Regions from separate parts of the Homo sapiens genome. Here regions 2 and 3 are each linked to region 1. The links are contacts of gene promoters, found by promoter capture Hi-C in blood cells and fetal thymus (Javierre and others, 2016). All regions are on one chromosome and are shown on one strand. Each heading gives the region's core, a stretch centred on a gene start or on the middle of the fragment in contact. The rest is flanking DNA. Distances are from core to core; before and after follow the strand shown. Region 1 holds the start of PCGF5 (polycomb group ring finger 5). Region 2 holds the start of LOC124902479 (a long non-coding RNA gene). Region 3 has its middle 30 kb from the start of LINC00502.

What was found. Contacts are between HindIII fragments. The CHiCAGO score rates a contact against its expected background, and 5 or more counts as called.
Region 2: a contact is called between a fragment that was not itself captured here and the fragment with the promoter of PCGF5 in region 1, in 3 of 17 cell types (naive CD4 T cells, naive CD8 T cells and non-activated CD4 T cells). The highest score is 7.8, in naive CD4 T cells.
Region 3: a contact is called between a fragment that was not itself captured here and the fragment with the promoter of PCGF5 in region 1, in 1 of 17 cell types (naive CD8 T cells). The highest score is 5.3, in naive CD8 T cells.

What each region holds. Positions count from the first base shown.
Region 1 is chr10:91,219,229-91,222,356 of GRCh38, reverse strand. It overlaps PCGF5 (polycomb group ring finger 5), which reads right to left and starts at 1,694. Exons shown (of 10, transcript NM_032373.5): 1 at 1,521-1,694. RefSeq lists silencers at 1,071-1,365, 1,055-1,514, 1,585-1,894 and an enhancer at 2,085-2,154. The HindIII fragment of the contact is 12,523 bases long and covers 1-3,128 here.
Region 2 is chr10:91,021,296-91,024,423 of GRCh38, reverse strand. LOC124902479 (a long non-coding RNA gene) reads left to right here and starts at 946. Exons shown (of 2, transcript XR_007062238.1): 1 at 946-1,101. The HindIII fragment of the contact is 3,179 bases long and covers 100-3,128 here.
Region 3 is chr10:91,074,697-91,077,824 of GRCh38, reverse strand. No RefSeq gene overlaps it. Among named protein-coding and RNA genes, the nearest start is that of LINC00502, 30 kb to the right of the region's middle. The HindIII fragment of the contact is 2,286 bases long and covers 287-2,572 here.

The DNA of each region.
Region 1 (3,128 bases), core at 445-2,944:
ATTAAAAACTTAAGTAATTATCCTCCCTATCAAAATGTTCCCCATTTCCATTTTTAACCCTTCATCCAGTTACGAGTCAAACCAAGTTGATATCCTCTGCTATTCCATGCCCGGCTGCTCTACTTGTATATCACCTCTCCACCTGCAGTCCATCTTATATTCTGCTACGAGGCACATTTTATTTTGTGACACTTGGTTGGGTCTTCTTATCAACGAATGTCAGTGTCTTCTCTTTACAAACAGAAAAATGTTTCCCATTCTGTCACATAAGACCTTCTACAGGTTAACCTTAATATACCCTTCAACAACTTTCTTCAACCTGAAGGGATCACTCCTCTCCCACCGTCTCCTCTGCAGGTTCTAAGCACTCTATCCAACACGCCCTTTCTCTCCTCTGTCTGCATGCCACCTATCCTTCAAGCCCTTCTCCAATGCTATTCTCAGTGCAATCTTTCCCTAGTTTTTAATGCTTACTTCTTTCCTATTACATTTGCCTTTTATTTTGATTTATAGTTACGTTCATTCTTTACCTTCTTTGTTAGACCAAAAACTCTTCAATAGAAACTGGTCATATTTAGTAGATATATAACCTGGATAATGCTACTTTCCTGTCTCAGGTTTTTTTTTTTTTTTAACTGTAAAATATGTATCCTCTCAGAAAACACAACATGAAAGGTGTTGATTTTCCTAAGTGCATTCTATAAACAGGAACTTTCCCCCATCTTAGCTGTTAACTCATTGGTAAATATAAAGCAACCGGAAAGGTAAAAGGCATTCCATCAACACATACCCACTGCGAATGTGCAGGGAATAGGCTCTACGTGTAATCATCCTATCCTCTTGGGAAACCGTATTCGTGCGTGTAACAGAAAGCAAGCATAATTAAAAGACAGGGAATCAGGGTTCTGGCCCTTACCCCTGTATGACCTTCAGCAAACCGTTTCATATCTGAGCCTGGGTCTCGGCTTCCTCCTCTATAAGTTGGGATTAACTGCCTTGCCTTTCCCACAGGTTTGCCATGAAACTCCAAAGTAAGAGAAAGTCCTCTGGAAGAGGAAATGCACGGTCCCGACCTGGGGTGGTACTAAGATCCTAAGGCACAGAGCCCTGTGACCAAGACAGTTAAGGGAAGCAAGAACTTGCAATGACGGGGCGGGGGCAAGGGGGAACTTTTCTGCGTTCTCCGGCAGGACCCAGCGGTACAGCCCTGTGGGGTCCCAGCACAGCCGCGCCCGCCCGGCAGGTGCGCGGGCCCAGGCCCCGCGGGCGCGCTGCTCAGGCCGGGGAGAGCGAGCAGCCTTTCCCGGGGCCGGCGTCCGCAGCCGGCCGCTCTCCCCGCCGAGGTAGGCACAGCTCCGAAGCCCCCGCCCGGGTCGGTAGCCCCCTGCACCCGAAGGGCCCTCCCGGCTCCAGGCTGGGCCGGCCAGGGCAGGTGTCTGGAGGTGTCGCTCTCGCCTGAGGCGCAAACTTGGGTGAGGAGTCTGGCGTCCCTGCAGCTCCCCAGCCCGCCCGGTACCTACCCAGCGGCCGCCACCGCCGCCGCTCCTCGCCCGCCAGCGCGCCGGCCTCAGAGTGAAGGAAAGTGAAACAGAAACAGCACCCGCCGCGGCCTGGCCGGTCCCCGCGCCCCGTCTGCTCTCCCCCTGCAGGCGGGAGCGCGCCGGCTCTGTGGGGCCACTCGGCTCAGGCCCGACAGGGCGCGGCGGGCCTCGGGGCCCAGGTCCGGTGCCGCCTCCAAGGGCAACTCCACCCACTTCCAACCGGCGGCACCGCCCGCCCCGCCGCCCGGCCACGCCCCCGCCGCCCGGCCACGCCCACCACCACGCCCGGAGGCCGCGCCTGCCGCCTGCGCTGCTCGCAGGTGCAGCTGCCGCCCTGGCTCCCTGTGCTACACGTAGCTCTGGCCAAATATTATCTCGGTTCTTCTTATCCTCACCGTCCACCCCTTCGGTTGTTTACATCATAACAATGACTGGCATATTTTCCCTGGAGGGTTTAAAAGCAACGGTCAGTGATGAGACTGACGCACCCTGAGAATTTGTCTCTTCAGCTGCGTCTTCCCCAAGTCTGTCCCACCTGCGCCGAAGTGGGGACAAAGCCATCCCTTGATTTGCACCTTATCTGAAAATGACTGACAAACTTGTTACTGTAGTGTGGGTCCAGAGATCATGGTCGTTGACAACTATAAGCAAACGGGAACGTTGTGGAGGTTGAGGGTGGGGGGAGGGTGAGTGGTAAAGAAGCATTACTGTTTGCAACGTTCAAAACAAACAAAAACCCAGTACTCTTTCTAGTGGACTTTGAGATCTACAAGAGACCATTCACTGCAAAAACCTTCATTCAAAAATGTGTATTCTAGAAGCCAGAGCAGTGATGGCTTAAGAAAATGACAATAATAGAGGGTAGGGGAGACTGTCAATGCAAAATATTTGCTTTTTCTCCAACTGATAGGCGTTAACTTCTTACTAAAGTGATAGATGACTCTAAGTGGCAAACCAACAAACTTAACAACCGCTAGTCCAGCAGCCATACAAGTGTTCAAAGATCCATTTCAAATTTAAAATGCATCAAGCAGTAGACCAAGGCAGCTTTTTAAACTATCCATTTTATAATCAAACTTTGACATGTTTAAAAATTGCCATTTCTAATATCACAGCAGGAGCAATACATTTTCTGAAACAGCTTTAAATGACCACATTCGTATAGTCCTTTAAAGAACCATTTTCCAAAATCATACATGCCAATGTCCAAGCTGGGATCAACTTCATAAGTCGCAGCAATCACAATGAGTAAGAGAAAACAAGTGAGGTCAAATGACTTCATGGCAGTAGGATTACTCTTTATGCTTCATATCTTTCATTTCAGAGACTAAACAGAACAGTATGTGAAAAATCACACTACTTCTAGTGTGTTTAAAATATGCATTGGAGGATATTACTGTATATATACCACAATATATAAAAAAGACTTGGTATGTTCCTATTTTGTGTCTGAAACTATTTTAAATATGTTTTAAAAGAATAACAGTGGAGTCCAGGGGGCTTAAATGTGATTGGTGACCTATCACAAGTGCGGTTAATCAGTATTCCTGAAGGAAACGAGCTTGAAGGCGGGTTTTAGGATGACAT
Region 2 (3,128 bases), core at 440-2,939, 200 kb after region 1:
GATTTTAAATCTGCTCATATCACTTCCTTAATTATCACTTGCCATGGGGGCAAAGAGACGCATCAACTAAGCATTATCCATAGGTCTGCTTCTGAAGCTTCTAAAATTCAAATGGATGAAATTACTTTCTGTAATCCTTGTGATTTAACTGCGTGCAGCCTCACAGCCAGCAAGGGAGGGGGCGGGGAGGAGTGAGGATGGTTAAATAAAAACAGTTCTATTTCTGGCATGCTTTAATGACAACCTTGTCTTAGAAATATTTTTTTTTGTGCAATGTCTTTTCAGTGTCATTGAAAGTGTTTTTAATTTCAAAGAGAGGCTGTGGCACGGGATGTTAATCAATGAAATTCTGGCACGCTTTTCTATGAACAGGGCTCGTTATTTATATTTACCAGTGACAGAGATGAGTTCTTCAACCCAGGCAATATTATCATTCATGCCTGGTTAATTAAGGAAGAAACAAATGCCTTAGGAAACTCATCCTGATATTAGAGGGAGGGAGAAGGACCTATTTTAGGTCTTGGGATATTTCATTTCCCCAAAGCCCTCCCTGTGAGTCACAGGACAGAAATTGGAGGCAGAGAAAGCAGAATAGCATAGTCGTCCAGACTAAAAAATAAGTTTTGGCTGAAAGACTGGATAATGGCATTTATGTATTCCTTGCTTGTGAGGTTCTGCAGTGCTTTCTGTTATGTATGCATGGGATGCAGCAGGCAATGCCAGCGTTTTTGTTCCTCTGAATTCCTGTCGTTGGACACTGCCAGGATTTAGGGTAGGGTCAGCCCTGGGCCATTTTAGCCCCAATAAAGGTCTGTTTTATTAAAGGCCTGCTTGTCCCTTGCCTGTTTACTGCTGCCTAATACAACACGTTCTTTATCTCTTTTTGGCTCTGCCCCAAAGAAAGCAGGGAGGCTTGTTGCTGCTTGGATTCCAGTTTCTGTCTCCAGTCTGGTCTTGTGGGGTTTAGGGGCTGGAAATGGGGAAGAGCTAGAGCACAGCATTTAGGATTGAGTTTTATACTATTCGGTACTCCAATTATGAAAACAACGATGATGATGCTTCTGACCTGCCCTGTTGGGCTGTTTCTTCCCCATCCTTTTGGTGAGTAGCTGTGCTGTGTCATTCTCATGCTCCCCTGTCCTTCTGGTGATGACGAGGCCCATGTTGGAACCTACAGAAGTGAGAAGTGAAGACTGTGACCCTGGAGGGTGTTGCACTGGGAAAACTAGCTGGTATATTGGGAATGTGAGCTATGAGTTTATCTGAATTTTAACCATGTTCTCACTAACTTATCTGGTCCTGAGGGTCACCAAGCTAACAGGCTGGGTCAACCATCAGCAGAGCCAGCTTCCTGAGCATGTGATCTACGAAGTCACACAGGCTCTGCACTTAAAAATAAAAAGCCCTCCCCCTGGTTTAAGTTCTGCTACCATCATCTGGAAATTTCTTAAGACCTTTTAAACAAAGGGTCCACATTTTCTTTTTGCACTGGCCCTTGCAAACCATGTAGCCAGTCCTGACTGTAAGATCAGATCTTCAAACAGTCCTAATACAGTCGATTGTGAAGATAGTTTAGCTTTTAGGCTTCCCCAGCAGTATTACAATTTCCAGAGGATTAAAGGAAGCACCTGAGGCAGTGAGAAGGAACACCTGCTGAATCCTGAGATCTATCTACAGTACAGGAGCCAGGCTCATTGATTCTGTCGAAAGGCAAAGTGTGATGCAGCCTTGAACATGCCCATCCCAGCAGTGCTAGGGTGCTCAGAGAAGAGGGTGATTGGCAGTGGCAGATGCAGCTGTGCGGTCAAGGAGGAGAAGCATAAAGAGGCTTTTTAATATGCCCTCAAAGAAGTAATTGGAGACCTGGAGAAACTGTAGAAGAGAAGAGTACAAGCTGGCTGGAATCCAGAGGAGAATTCCACAAGTGGAATTGGAGATAGCAAGAAAGAGACCATGTTAGAGGAATTTAGAGTGGGTGAGAGTTGGTGAGGGCTGAATATTTGTGGATGGGTAGCCTGTACCTGTCTGAAGGTCACTGGAAGGCAGTGAGGGCAGAGGGAAAAAGTGATGAAGGAGTAGGGAAGAAGAACATAGTCTGGAAAACTGACGCTGCAAAGGAGAAGTTAGAGAGGGAGTAGATATTACAAAGGATCCAGCATGTATCTGAGAGTCTCCATATCCTCACCTCTCAATTGGTAAGACTCTGAGCAGCAAAGGAGTGCGACTGAAGGAAGGCTGCTTCTGCAAATCTAGTCTGGAAACATCTGCAGCAAAATCACATATGGTGCTTATTACAAATGTATTTTCTAGATCCCATCCTGGACCTTCACTATCAGGTCCCTTGAGGACTTGGAGTTGGGAGGGCAAGAATCAGGCTTTTAAACAAGAGTTTCAAATAAATCCTGATGAAATTCAACCTTTAAAAGAAAGACGACGGAGGAATACAGCTAAGGCAGATTTTGGAGGCCTGACCATATGGCACAGTGATGCTGAGGCTGAGTGAAGAAGGAAGAGGTGTAAGCACAGGTAGCCCAGGCCTGCTAGTATGGAGGCCAGCCTAGCCTGAGATAACAGCAATGTCCCTCTGTCACAGAGGGAGGTTCCTGCCTGCAAAGTCCCCAAAGGGACTTCCTGCCAACCACATTCCTACCACCCCTTACCTTGCTGGAAGTGACTGTTTCCTGCAATCAGCAAGTGGGATAAAGAATTTCCAGTAAAGACTATGCTTCTGAAAGTTGAAGTCTGGTCTATCTTGCTTTTGTAAGATTATGCTTGCTTCTTAGATTCAGCCTCTTACACTGTTTCCCTAGCTGCCAGGTTCCTGTTCTCTTTCAAATCCTTGATTAATCCCTGATTGATGTTTCACTAATCAACTGATGATTTCTTCCAGACAGACTAGTTTTGCTCCTCTGCTGTCTGATCCTTAGAGAACTTCTCAAAGTATCAGTCATGTCATAATTTCTGAATGTTTTCAACAGCTCTCCTTCTCAAACTTGAACATGCAGACAAATCACCTGGGAAGGCACATTCTGGTTTAGTGGATGTGGGATAGGATCTGAGATTCTGCTTTTCTCATTCTAGCAAGCTCCTGGGTGATGCTCACGCTGCTGGTCCATGGACCACACTCT
Region 3 (3,128 bases), core at 180-2,679, 140 kb after region 1:
ATGACAACAGTGCTTCAAGCTTTGCATAGCAGTCATTTTTGCTAAATATTCATACGCTTATTTATACTCTCCCAGGCCTTGCCTGAAATCAGGGAGTTTAGAATTTCAGGCACAAACTATTTCCCTTTTTGGGAAGAAAGATTAGTGGACACAGGCATGGAGGAGTTGAGAAAGGGGTGGGAAAAGGGAAAGACGATTTTGTAATCAGTCTTTAGAACCGTGTATTTCTCTGGATGCTTAGTAGAAGGGAGTTACTAATTGTGTAGGGTGTGTATCCGTGTAAGCTTCAATCCTGGGGGGCCGTATTTGTCCTAACCCAGCGACACTTAAATGTGTGTTGAATAAATAAATGAATAATCTACAAAAATGGTACGATGTCCTCTGGGGCAGAGACTAAAGGTTGTGTTTGTAACCATAGAATCTACTCAGGGTTCCCGGCTCATGGAATAAACTCAAATACATGTTTTTGGATTAGTTAATGGGTGAGAAAAGGAAGGGAGGAAAAGTAGGAGGGAGGGAAGAAGGGGGAGACGGTGAAAGGAAGAGAGGAAGGAAGAGTTTGAGAACAGACAGTTGGGCTGGCTACTTCACTTCTCCGGACCAGTGCACTTGGGTGCCAAGAAGCAGCTTTGTTTGCCTTCTCTAGCTGTTTGTTACACCTGACTTAGGGCCATAAAATCTCAGGCCTTTTTAGTGAGCCTTTTCACAGTTTGTTAGCCCTTTGTAATTTACAAAGCATCTCAGAGGTTTCCAGGAGGCACTGGCCACTAGAAAAATTCTTGTCTTTATTAACCCTAGCTCCTCTTGTACACCTCCCCCAACTAGGAAAGATGTGCATGTCTGTCATTCAGGGAGACAGAGGGGAGAAAGGGAGAGAAGGGACAGAGGGGAGGAGTAAAGGGGGAAGGAGAGAGGGATGGAAGGGGATAGAGGGAGGGAGGAAGAGAATGAAAGAGAGATGCTGGAACACAGCTGGAAGACAGCTCTCCCATGAGTCCTCCGGAAGCCCACCTGTCAGCACTTTTTTGTCTTCCACATGCCCTTCTGCATTCACGTGGAATTTTGTTCCTGCTTATGTCCATTTAAGAGCTTATGGGCTTAAGGCTTCAAGTGTTGAAATAAATACTGAGAATTTATGGCACCTTGGGCAAGACTATGGAGGAGGAATATGGACATTTCATCCTCCTTTAAGTTGCCCCCAGTGAAAGCAGTGGACAAAATTTTCTCCAGGTTCCTCCTATGTGTAACAAATTAGAAACTAGTCTGAGAATCCAGACCACTGGTCCCTGTCTCATGTGTGCCTCCAACCAGCTGTGTAAATGTGGGCAAGTCTATTCTCTCTGGGTCCTGGTTTGCTCATGTGGGTAAAGGACTGGTGGTACTGTAGGATCTCTAGAGTCTTTCTTGGCTACAGCTCATCTGCAATTCTAAGGAAGGCCCTAAAGACCCCCATCCTCTTGTGATGCTTATACCCAGGAGTTCACTGTTCCCAAGGAGCTTTAGATGAAGGACACTGAGTAATCACTGTCCCCAAGCTACCCCTATTTGATTTTGTCAAGCTCAGTACTGTGGTAGAGAGAAAGATAACCTGGTAGACATTAGAGGCACCCAGATATAGAGCCATAGTCATTTGAAAGCATGAGGTTGCCTCCTGCCTTGCCTTCCCTGTCCTCCTCACTGGAGACACAAATGCCTTCACTCTGCAGCTCAGCCTTAGATAGTCCCTGGGCCAAGGCAGGGATTACCCTGGTATAGATACAAAACCTGGTGTGACTCTTGGGTAAAACAACAACGATGATGATGTATTTGATTGACTCTATACCCACAAACTTTGGAGTGCCAGAAATACCATACTTCTGTGTTTATTTAAAAGTAAATTCTATCTCAGTGTTTCCATCCTTCCAGGCAAATGGGAAATCCATCCTACTTAGTATTGAGGCTCCACACTGATAGCTATTGGATTAAATGTTCCTGGATTTTCCAATGGTAGAGCATTAGCATGCACCCTTTGTTAACTGATTGGCTGGTTATTGCTAAGCCTTTCTTTGTTCCAGTTCAAATTCTCCCCTCGCATCTGGCATCTCTGCCCCCACCACCTCCAAACATGGTATTGTACGATGAGGCTTGGAGCTTCCCTGGGGCACAATGCAGTAGTTCCCCCTATGACATACTATTCGTGGGACTCTGCCAGAGAGTGGAGAGAGGGTCCCTTCTGTTTATGGGTTCTGAAATAATCCCTTCTCTTTCCTCTTGTCCAAAGTTCATTTCTTATTCTCTCTTCCTCTCCCAGGAACATCTTTTCAATAAATTTAGGTATTAAAGTCTAGGGGAGACTTCAAGCAGTTTGTGATTTAGGCCTTCAGAAGAAGACCTTAGATACAAGAAAATAGCATGAGTTTTAGTTAGGGTATTAGGCCGAGTAACTGTGTCAAGAAACACAAACGTAAGATGACTCAAAAAGCAGCCAGTCACTGAGCCAGTGAGGCATCTCTTGCTCCATGTGGTCCTGCAGGGACACAGGGCTCCTTCCACCTTCTAGTTCTGCCATGTCCCCATCTTCATGGCCAAAGCTTTGTCACCTTTATGTCTGTGGCACAGCCTGCAGAAAGGGCAAACTTGTCTTTAACAAGATGATCTAGAAGCTGTTGTGTCACTTTTATTCTTGAATCATTGACTGAACTAGTTCACAAGGCCACACCTAGCTCAAAAGAAATACAGTATTGGAGGAAATTCTAGTACTAAGGAGGACCTATTGGGGGACAATTAGGGCAATCTTTTTTTTTAAATTTTATTATTATTATACTTTAAGTTTTAGGGTACATGTGCACAACGTGCAGGTTTGTTACATATGTATACATGTGCCATGTTGGTGTGCTGCACCCATTAACTCATCATTTAGCATTAGGTATATCTCCTAATGCTATCCCTCCCCCCTCCCCCCACCCCACAACAGGCCCCGGTGTGTGATATTCCCCTTCCTGTGTCCATGTGTTCTCATTGTTCAATTCCCACCTATGAGTAAGAACATGCGGTGTTTGGTTTTTGGTCCTTGTGATGGTTTGCTGAGAATGATGGTTTCCAGCTTCATCCATGTCCCTACAAAGGACATGAACTCATCCTTTTTTATG